Linked DNA regions of Homo sapiens: all the other regions are linked to region 3. The links are contacts of gene promoters, found by promoter capture Hi-C in blood cells and fetal thymus (Javierre and others, 2016). All regions are on one chromosome and are shown on one strand. Each heading gives the region's core, a stretch centred on a gene start or on the middle of the fragment in contact. The rest is flanking DNA. Distances are from core to core; before and after follow the strand shown.

Evidence for each region. The method cuts DNA at HindIII sites, captures the fragments that hold promoters and counts their contacts. A CHiCAGO score of 5 or more calls a contact.
Region 1: a contact is called between a fragment that was not itself captured here and the fragment with the promoter of IRS2 in region 3, in 1 of 17 cell types (fetal thymus). The highest score is 5.4, in fetal thymus.
Region 2: a contact is called between a fragment that was not itself captured here and the fragment with the promoter of IRS2 in region 3, in 1 of 17 cell types (endothelial precursors). The highest score is 6.0, in endothelial precursors.

What each region holds. Positions count from the first base shown.
Region 1 is chr13:109,203,561-109,206,260 of GRCh38, reverse strand. The region is part of intron 34 of MYO16 (myosin XVI); the gene reads right to left. LOC124903207 (a long non-coding RNA gene) reads left to right here. Exons shown (of 2, transcript XR_007063864.1): 1 at 1-2,700. Among named protein-coding and RNA genes, the nearest start is that of MYO16-AS1, 38 kb to the right of the region's middle. The HindIII fragment of the contact is 1,667 bases long and covers 523-2,189 here.
Region 2 is chr13:108,999,712-109,002,411 of GRCh38, reverse strand. All of the region lies in intron 21 of MYO16 (myosin XVI), which reads right to left. Among named protein-coding and RNA genes, the nearest start is that of MYO16-AS2, 100 kb to the left of the region's middle. The HindIII fragment of the contact is 2,015 bases long and covers 326-2,340 here.
Region 3 is chr13:109,785,324-109,788,023 of GRCh38, reverse strand. It overlaps IRS2 (insulin receptor substrate 2), which reads left to right and starts at 1,441. Exons shown (of 2, transcript NM_003749.3): 1 at 1,441-2,700. The coding sequence starts at 1,971. LOC124903211 (WAS/WASL-interacting protein family member 1-like) reads right to left here and starts at 940. Exons shown (of 2, transcript XM_047430835.1): 1 at 579-940; 2 at 1-424. The coding sequence starts at 931. The coding sequence ends at 187. RefSeq lists silencers at 1,044-1,213, 1,234-1,463 and an enhancer at 2,305-2,700. The HindIII fragment of the contact is 25,501 bases long and covers 1-2,700 here.

The DNA of each region.
Region 1 (2,700 bases), core at 107-2,606, 580 kb after region 3:
TATCCATAATAGATGTTCTCCTATTAACAGAGCTTCCTCAAGCGTCACTCCATCCTCGGAGCTGCTCCTCCATCTGTCCACATAGTTAATAGTCAAACATGACTATTAGGGTTACATGACCTCACTTCCGACCATAAGGCATGGACCCAAAGATGGACCCCTACTCATGAGGGTCCGTTCATAGACAATACACAATCACACCACACTCATGTAGAAAATGTTTTCAAGCATTAGGTGTTCCAAAAGGCAGTCACTAAAATATCCAATGAGCTCATTCAAGGCGGGCTAGCTGTGCTTGAGAATATTTGAAGCCTCTTTGGTGTATCTACCTGCCTGCTCTATTTGGTGGCAGTGAGACAAAGCAATGAGCTAAATTAGCAACTGTGTACTCTCAGACGCTGAGCCCTCAAAGATGGGAACATTATGGGCCTTTGCAGGAAAGCATCAAAACATGTAACTGTATTGGCTACATCATCTTGTGTCACTATGGCCCCTGAAGAGAGACACCCTGCAGACCAAGCTTACCCCCTGACTTCAGCTAGGGCACAAGACAAGCTGGCTATGTAGCTGGGGTCACCCTTCTTCTGCCAGCCGCCAGAAGTCTGTAGTAGCTGGACATTGCAGATATCAATTTTTCTGGCAATTCTAAGGAAGTATACTGGTTTAAAAAAAAAATGAGATTCTGGAAATCCGAATAGGAATACTGGGGAGAATTCAGAGGAAATGAGATGACTCATCCTACCTCCAAAGCACTAACTACTTTGTTCCAGCACTTCTTCTATCTCATCACAACCCTCTCCATTAAAATGAGAGAAAATAAAACAAAACAGAACACAAGTGGTTATGCACTTATGTAGAAAACAGTCACTTGAAAGCAGCAAAGGGAGTGAGTGTTCCATCCAGGCCCAATTCTAACACCAACACCTGAGCCTACTGTTTCCCCCAGAAAGAGGATTTTAAAGGCTGGGATCAAGGAGATGATGTTTACAGCATGAAGGTCAAACCCATATTCAGAGTCTGTAACTAGAGTTCTGGAGCTGGTTATTAGTAAAAGGAGCCTCCCCAGTTGAATTTACAGACAACCAGAGGAAAGAAGAGCTTAAGGGTAGAAAAGAGGACTATGGTTACTCAGTCCCTAAAGCAATTTCTAGACATAACAGAGAGTGAGCTGCAGAGCAGAGTGGGCCTCTTAAAAGGGTATTTTTTTTTTATTCTTTAGGGCTGCATCAGAATGGCCTGGAAATGAGAAATTCTGTTGGGCAGATGCTTGTGGAAGCCAGATTGCTTCTACTCTCAGCAGAGTGAGCCAAGAAAGCAGGGTGGTGGGAGCTTGCATGAAATCAGGTTATTTAGTGAACACTTTGGCTACACGTGTGCTAGGTGCTTTCGTAAGCACCTTCCAGGCATTAACTCGTCAGCTCTTAAGAGCCCTGTAAAGTGGGTACTTCTATGTTGCAGATCAGGAAACAGGAACAGGGCAGTCAGGTAATCTGGCCAAAGCCACATGGAAAATGACAGATCCTGGCAGCCTGGCCCAAGAGTCCATGGGATGTGTTTCCATTTGTTCGCATCATCTATAATTTCTTTCAAAGTGGGCTAAGGACATGAGTAGACAATTCTCAAAAGAAGATATGCTTTTAGCTGTGAGTCTACTGTGCTTAACCCAACTATTGTGGTCTAGGATCTGATACAGGCTAAGGATCAGAGTCCCCTGTACCATGTTCCTCTTCCCTTCTTTTTCTGAATGGGACCACAGTCATCTATGTTTGTCCAGGAGTGTGTGCCAGCTCCTCCGTCATCCTCCACCAGTGTGTGCTGTGCTGGTTACATTCCCTTCAGTCTCATTAGTGTGGACATGGAACATTCATATTTATGTTCCTTGGCACACACTCAGCATACAGTAGTGATCTCTGAAAACAATGTCACCAGATCAGGAAACAACATTTAACTGATGGAAGAATATCGCTACCATGTCAACTGATTATTTTCCCCAAGTTTTCTTAAGACACCATGTTTCCTAAATGACACAACTTCATATTCATTTATTTAGAAAACAAACTGAGGAACGTTCACTTCTGGAGAGCTATAGCATGTTATTGTTCCTGTTGTAAAAATTTCAAAAAAGAGTCATTTTTCTAAAACATCAGGAAATTCTGACAAATGGAGAGAATTCCAGATGGAGTGAAGCTTTTTGAGGTGAACAGATAATTACCAGCTGCTTTTTTCCTCCCGGGGACATTTGCCAATTCTGAGCATTTCCCCAGATCCAGAGAGTTTTTTCTGGAAGGAAGATAAACCACATGATATTTTGGAGTTTCATGGGACTAAAGAAACAAATTGGAAACTTATAGGTCCTCAAATGCACAGCCATCGTCCACAGGGGACACTCATTTAGCTGTTCACCTGCATGGGTGATGGGCGCCCTAGGCCAAAGTTTATAGAAAGCAGAATGAAACCTCCTACAGTGACAGAGGTGCTTCAGAAGTAAAACCCTGGCAGGGGTGATGATGGCCTCTAGCATGTGACCAGTCTCATCTTAAAACATTTTCTGGATTTTGAAAGTGTGTGGGGCACAAGGCTGCAGAGTCAGGCTGGGAGCTCTGAAACACAGGGCTAGATTTGCTGTCATCTTTCAGGGCTGAGGAACAAAGACCTCGCAATGAAAGGCAAAGGCGGATCAAGCCTGAGGATTAGGAGAGA
Region 2 (2,700 bases), core at 84-2,583, 790 kb after region 3:
CTTATCCAGATGGCTCATCATTTGTATTAATGACAAACAATTTCTTGAGTAAATTTCCACCAACTGCTCTCCCTTTACTTTCATTACTCAGTGAAACATATCTGAAACAAAAATATAATAGAGCATGGCATACACATCACAGAATTAAAGTAGGAGATTAATTAAAGCTGACTCCAGCTGAAGGCAGAGCCCTGGGCAGTGACTCTCAAGCCTATCTGCACATTGGAATTAATTGAGGAGTTTTTTAAGAAAGGCTAATGTCTGGGCCTGACCCCAAACCAATTAAATTGGAGTGGGGTGCAGGCATTGAAATATTTAAAAAGCTTTCCAGGTGATTCTAATGGGTAGACATGGTTGAACACACTGAGATAGATCATAGAACTGAGAATGCACTATGCATCAACTAATTTGCTCATTAGTTAATATATATGTGTATATATAAGATATTAATGTGTGTGTGTTCACATGAGACAGACACACAGAGAGAGAGAGAAGGAATAGTGTTAGATTTTAGACACTGAGCATTGCTGAAATATGTTCAGCAGAACACTAATTGTGTGAGACTTTAATAGCTGTTGTCTAAAAACCCTACCTAAGCAGAAGCCCATTGGGGAAATATGGAGTTAAGTTAGGCTTCTCTGCAGGACTTCTTTGGGACTTGAACACTTCAAGCATACTATAAACTTCAACTATTTGAAGATTACCTTGGGGCTCACCAGACTGCTCCAAGTGGTTCTCCGACAAATCAGTTATCCCTGATTTCCATATATTGCCTATGAAACGGCAGGTACAGGAGGTTGGTGAGGGGATAGCATCTCTCTTGTTTACTTCAGTTTTAAAAGTCTAGTTTATTTTGTCTTCTCAGAATCTATAATTGTAGAGGCCTTTCTTTCCTACCATTCTTGTTTGGGAAAGGTCATGTTTACTCTTTTGCTAGCACCATGACTGACTCTTACCTTGATAGAGGATACTACCTCTGCCGATAAGCTAATCTTATTTTAAAAATAGAGGACTTGGGTGCTTGGTAGCCACAGCAGAGAAGGGTTGCTTTCCTTACCAGAGCCCCACATTGGGACCCGCAGTCAGCACCCAGGAAGTGGACTGGGCACACATTCGCTACCACCCACAGCTACCACCTGGCCCAGGCTGCCGTATTTGTTTTTGTTTGTATTTCTTTTTTCACCCTTCTATTTCCCAATCCCCTTCTCTTCCTTTTCTTTTTTTTTTTTTAAATTTTTTATTCTGTTACTATTTCTTAAAGGAATCAATCATCTTTCCTTCTCTGGCTTCCTTAGATATTTTAAAATTAAAGTATATATAACAAATTTTAAGTAAATATAAATTTCAGCTACTTCACATGTATAAAGACATTGTTTTACACAAATGAAAAACACTTTCTCTTTTTACAACTTTTATTTTATTCTGTTACTCAGAACAAAAAAATCTAGTATTTTGATGGGTTTAATTCATGACTATATTCTCCTTTAATGTAAATAATTACTACTTTGGGATTTGAAGAATTGGTCTTCAAAAAGGAGTCTATCGACTACAAACTAACTGGCTAAATTTATTGACAAATCTTATATAATAATATGCTAAGATCAGGATTGAAAAACACATATTAAAAAAATTATTTTTAGTATTTTGTATGATACCTTGTACATAAAATATATTCCTCAATTTAAATAGAAGCCATGCCCAAGAGTTAGAAACATAACCTCTGGTTAAAATGCTCTTATTTTAGAGCTTCAGTCACTCTATCAAATTGTTCAATATTTTTCAAAAAAAAGTTTGTTTTCTTGTTTAGTAATAAACTTCTAATCAATATGCTTTCTTTTTTCATATAAAATTATTCATATAGTCCAAAACCAATGATTAATGTATAATTTCTACCAAAATAATAAGCCTTTTTCAAATAGTTGTAATGATTCAGAATGAAATGCAAAGTTTAGAGGTTCTGACAAACTGACAGCATGGCCTGTGCTGGAGCAGCTCCTGCGGCCTCACACATCTGCCTCTGAATTCCCACTGGGCCTCATAAAACTTGTGGGGACTTTAACTCTTAATTTTCTGAAAAAGCTGTTGTAAGAGTTAAAAATTATATAGAAAAATAATCTGACTAATAGTAGGAGCTCAAGAAATTGTAGCCATTATCAATTATTAGCACAAAACTACATGAAAGCATTTTCCTAGTTTACGTATCTGGGATTGGAGCTTTATAGCTGGACAGCCACAATGATTAACTTAAGCCTTTTCCTGGTCATTAAAATTACTCAATTCACTCTTCTCTAAAGTAATCTGATAGATGGTTTCAAATGCATTAATTCTCCTTACTAAGCTTTGTAACATTTCCTTTTAATCATCCTGGTACTCTACAATGAAAAAGATACACCTCCATTATGAAACTTATTTATATTAAACGGATTTGGTGATAAATTCCACTATGGAAAAAACAATGGCACATAAAATTTACGAAGAGTTTATTGTTTCTAAACATAATAGAATAAATAATATTGAGTCCTAAGAGAAATACAAACAAAAGGGGCATCAAGTGAAGTTTAGAAAATATATACTAATAAAATTTTATGTTTAGCTTTCTAAGAACCTTTGGAACTGAAAATAGCTTGTTATTAAACCTGAATTCAGACCTTGGTTTTGTGTGAACTTCTATGAGCTACTTAAATTATTTAAGCTCAGAGG
Region 3 (2,700 bases), core at 192-2,691:
TCTTCGTTGCGCAGGATCGGGAGCTTGCTGGGATCTGAACTCAGGAAGCCCTCACCTCACCCTGACTTGGTCATTGAGGAGACGTAATTGCAGGGGTGCTTATTTGCTATAGGCTTTGAAAGTCACAAAAGCCCAGTAGATACATGAATTCGAAGCAGTTCTCCAAGGGCATCTCCAACTTGGCAGTCACCGCCCGCACCGCGCACACAGGTAGTGGACGCCCGCCCACCTGCCCGTCTGCTGGGCGCAGGGCGCTCCTGGGGTGGGGAGGGCGCTCCTGTGGGGGGAAAAGGGGCGCTCCTGCCTCGGAGGGGGAAAGGACGCCCCTGTGGAAGGAAGGGGGGGCTCTTGAAGCGGTGTGGTGAGAGGACGCTTCCGAGGAAGGAAGGGGGTGCTCCTGCAGCGGTGGGGGGAGAGGACGCCCCTGCGGAAGGAAGGCGGCGCTCCTGCGGGGGCTGGAGAGACGCCCGCGCGGTCTCCCGGCTCAGGGACCGCTGGCTCGCGGGTCCGCCCTCTCCCCGGCGCTATGGAAACCGCACTTTCTCCGCCTGCCGTCCCCGATCTCTTTCTCCTATTACCTCCCAAACGCGATTTCAACTTCCCGACAAGCTGACAAGTGAATGGCGCAGAGGACGCCCCGTAAAGCGCCCGCGAGCGGGTGGGACACAGGCGCCCCCTCCGCGCCCCTCTGTCCTCCACGGAAGGGCGCGCGCCGCTCTCGATCTGGAGCGCGGTGCTCGCGAACCCGCGGCCGCGGGCCCTGGAACCTCCCCGCGTTTCGCGGCTGCGGGGGGACGGAGATGCGGCCGGGAGACGGGGACGGGAAACGGGGGACGGGGATGGGGCGCGCCCACCCCGAGCGCGGGAGCGGCCGCCCTCGCCCAAAATGGGGACCCCGCGCCCCGAGAGCACGGCCCGGCTCGCCGCCCATGCTTCCACTGCAAGGCCGCAGCCCCCGCCGCCGATCCCGATCCCCCGCCCCGCCCAGCCGCGGCCCCGCCCGGCGCCCCCTCCCCGGCGGAAGCTCAAGCCCAATTAATTGAGTCCGAGGCGGGAGGGAAGGGCCCTGCGCGCCGTGGCCCGCCCCGCCCCTCTTCCGCGCCCCTTTTCCCGCCCTGGGTGGCATCTCCTCCGCCGGCATCCACAACAAGCCGCTGATTAATGAGGCCGGGGCCGCCCCACCCCGCCCGGCCGGGCCGGGGCCTTCGCGGGAGGGGGAGGGGACGGCGGGAAACGCGGCCCGGGGAGAAAGGGGGGCGGGGCGGGGGCGCGCGGCCCGCCCCCGCGAGCGCCGCGCCGATTGGCCGAGCGCGCCGTCCGTCGGGGGGCGCGGCGCCAATGCGAGGCAGCGGGGCGGGGCGGCCGCGCTGTGTGTGCCTGCGTAACGCCGAGTCACATGTTGTTTTGCTCTTCTTAGTTCAGTCACTCGGTGCGCGATGTGTTACTCACTGTGCGGCGGGGACCGCGACGAGCCCGGGTCGCCGTTGGCAGCAGCAGCAGCAACACCAGCAGCAGCAGCAGCCCCGGCGGCGGCGCGGACCCCGAGCGCCCGGGCGCACCCCGGCTTCCCGGAGCGCGACGCGGCGGCAGCAGCCCCGGTGCGGCCGCGCGCGCCTTAGGCTCGGCCCCGCGGCTCGGGGACCCCGACTCCCGGCCCAGCGAGCGCGTCCCCCGGCGCCGCCCGAGAGCCCGAGGAGGCAGCGGCCGCAGGCAGCCGGGGAGGGGGGCGGCCACCGCCCGCGCCGGGCATCCTCAGGAGCCCCAGAGCGCGGAGGGCGCGGCGCCGCCGAGCGGTGCTGGCCCCCGCGGGCCTCCCCGGACCTTCCCCACCGCCTGGGCCCGAGGGACGCGTGATCGGGCGGGCGGCCGGGCGCAAGGGTGGGAGGGAGCCGCCCCCGCCCGCGCCCCCTCCGCCCCTCGCCCCAACCCCTGGGCGCCGGGCCCGGGCCGCGCGGCCTGAAGCGCCCGCGATGGCGAGCCCGCCGCGGCACGGGCCGCCCGGGCCGGCGAGCGGAGACGGCCCCAACCTCAACAACAACAACAACAACAACAACCACAGCGTGCGCAAGTGCGGCTACCTGCGCAAGCAGAAGCATGGCCACAAGCGCTTCTTCGTGCTGCGCGGACCCGGCGCGGGCGGCGACGAGGCGACGGCGGGCGGGGGGTCGGCGCCGCAACCGCCGCGGCTCGAGTACTACGAGAGCGAGAAAAAGTGGCGGAGCAAGGCAGGCGCGCCGAAACGGGTGATCGCTCTCGACTGCTGCCTGAACATCAACAAGCGCGCCGACGCCAAGCACAAGTACCTGATCGCCCTCTACACCAAGGACGAGTACTTCGCCGTGGCCGCCGAGAACGAGCAGGAGCAGGAGGGCTGGTACCGCGCGCTCACCGACCTGGTCAGCGAGGGCCGCGCGGCCGCCGGAGACGCGCCCCCCGCCGCCGCGCCCGCCGCGTCCTGCAGCGCCTCCCTGCCCGGCGCCCTGGGCGGCTCTGCCGGCGCCGCCGGGGCCGAGGACAGCTACGGGCTGGTGGCTCCCGCCACGGCCGCCTACCGTGAGGTGTGGCAGGTGAACCTGAAGCCCAAGGGTCTGGGCCAGAGCAAGAACCTGACGGGGGTGTACCGTCTGTGCCTGTCTGCGCGCACCATCGGCTTCGTGAAGCTCAACTGCGAGCAGCCGTCGGTGACGCTGCAGCTCATGA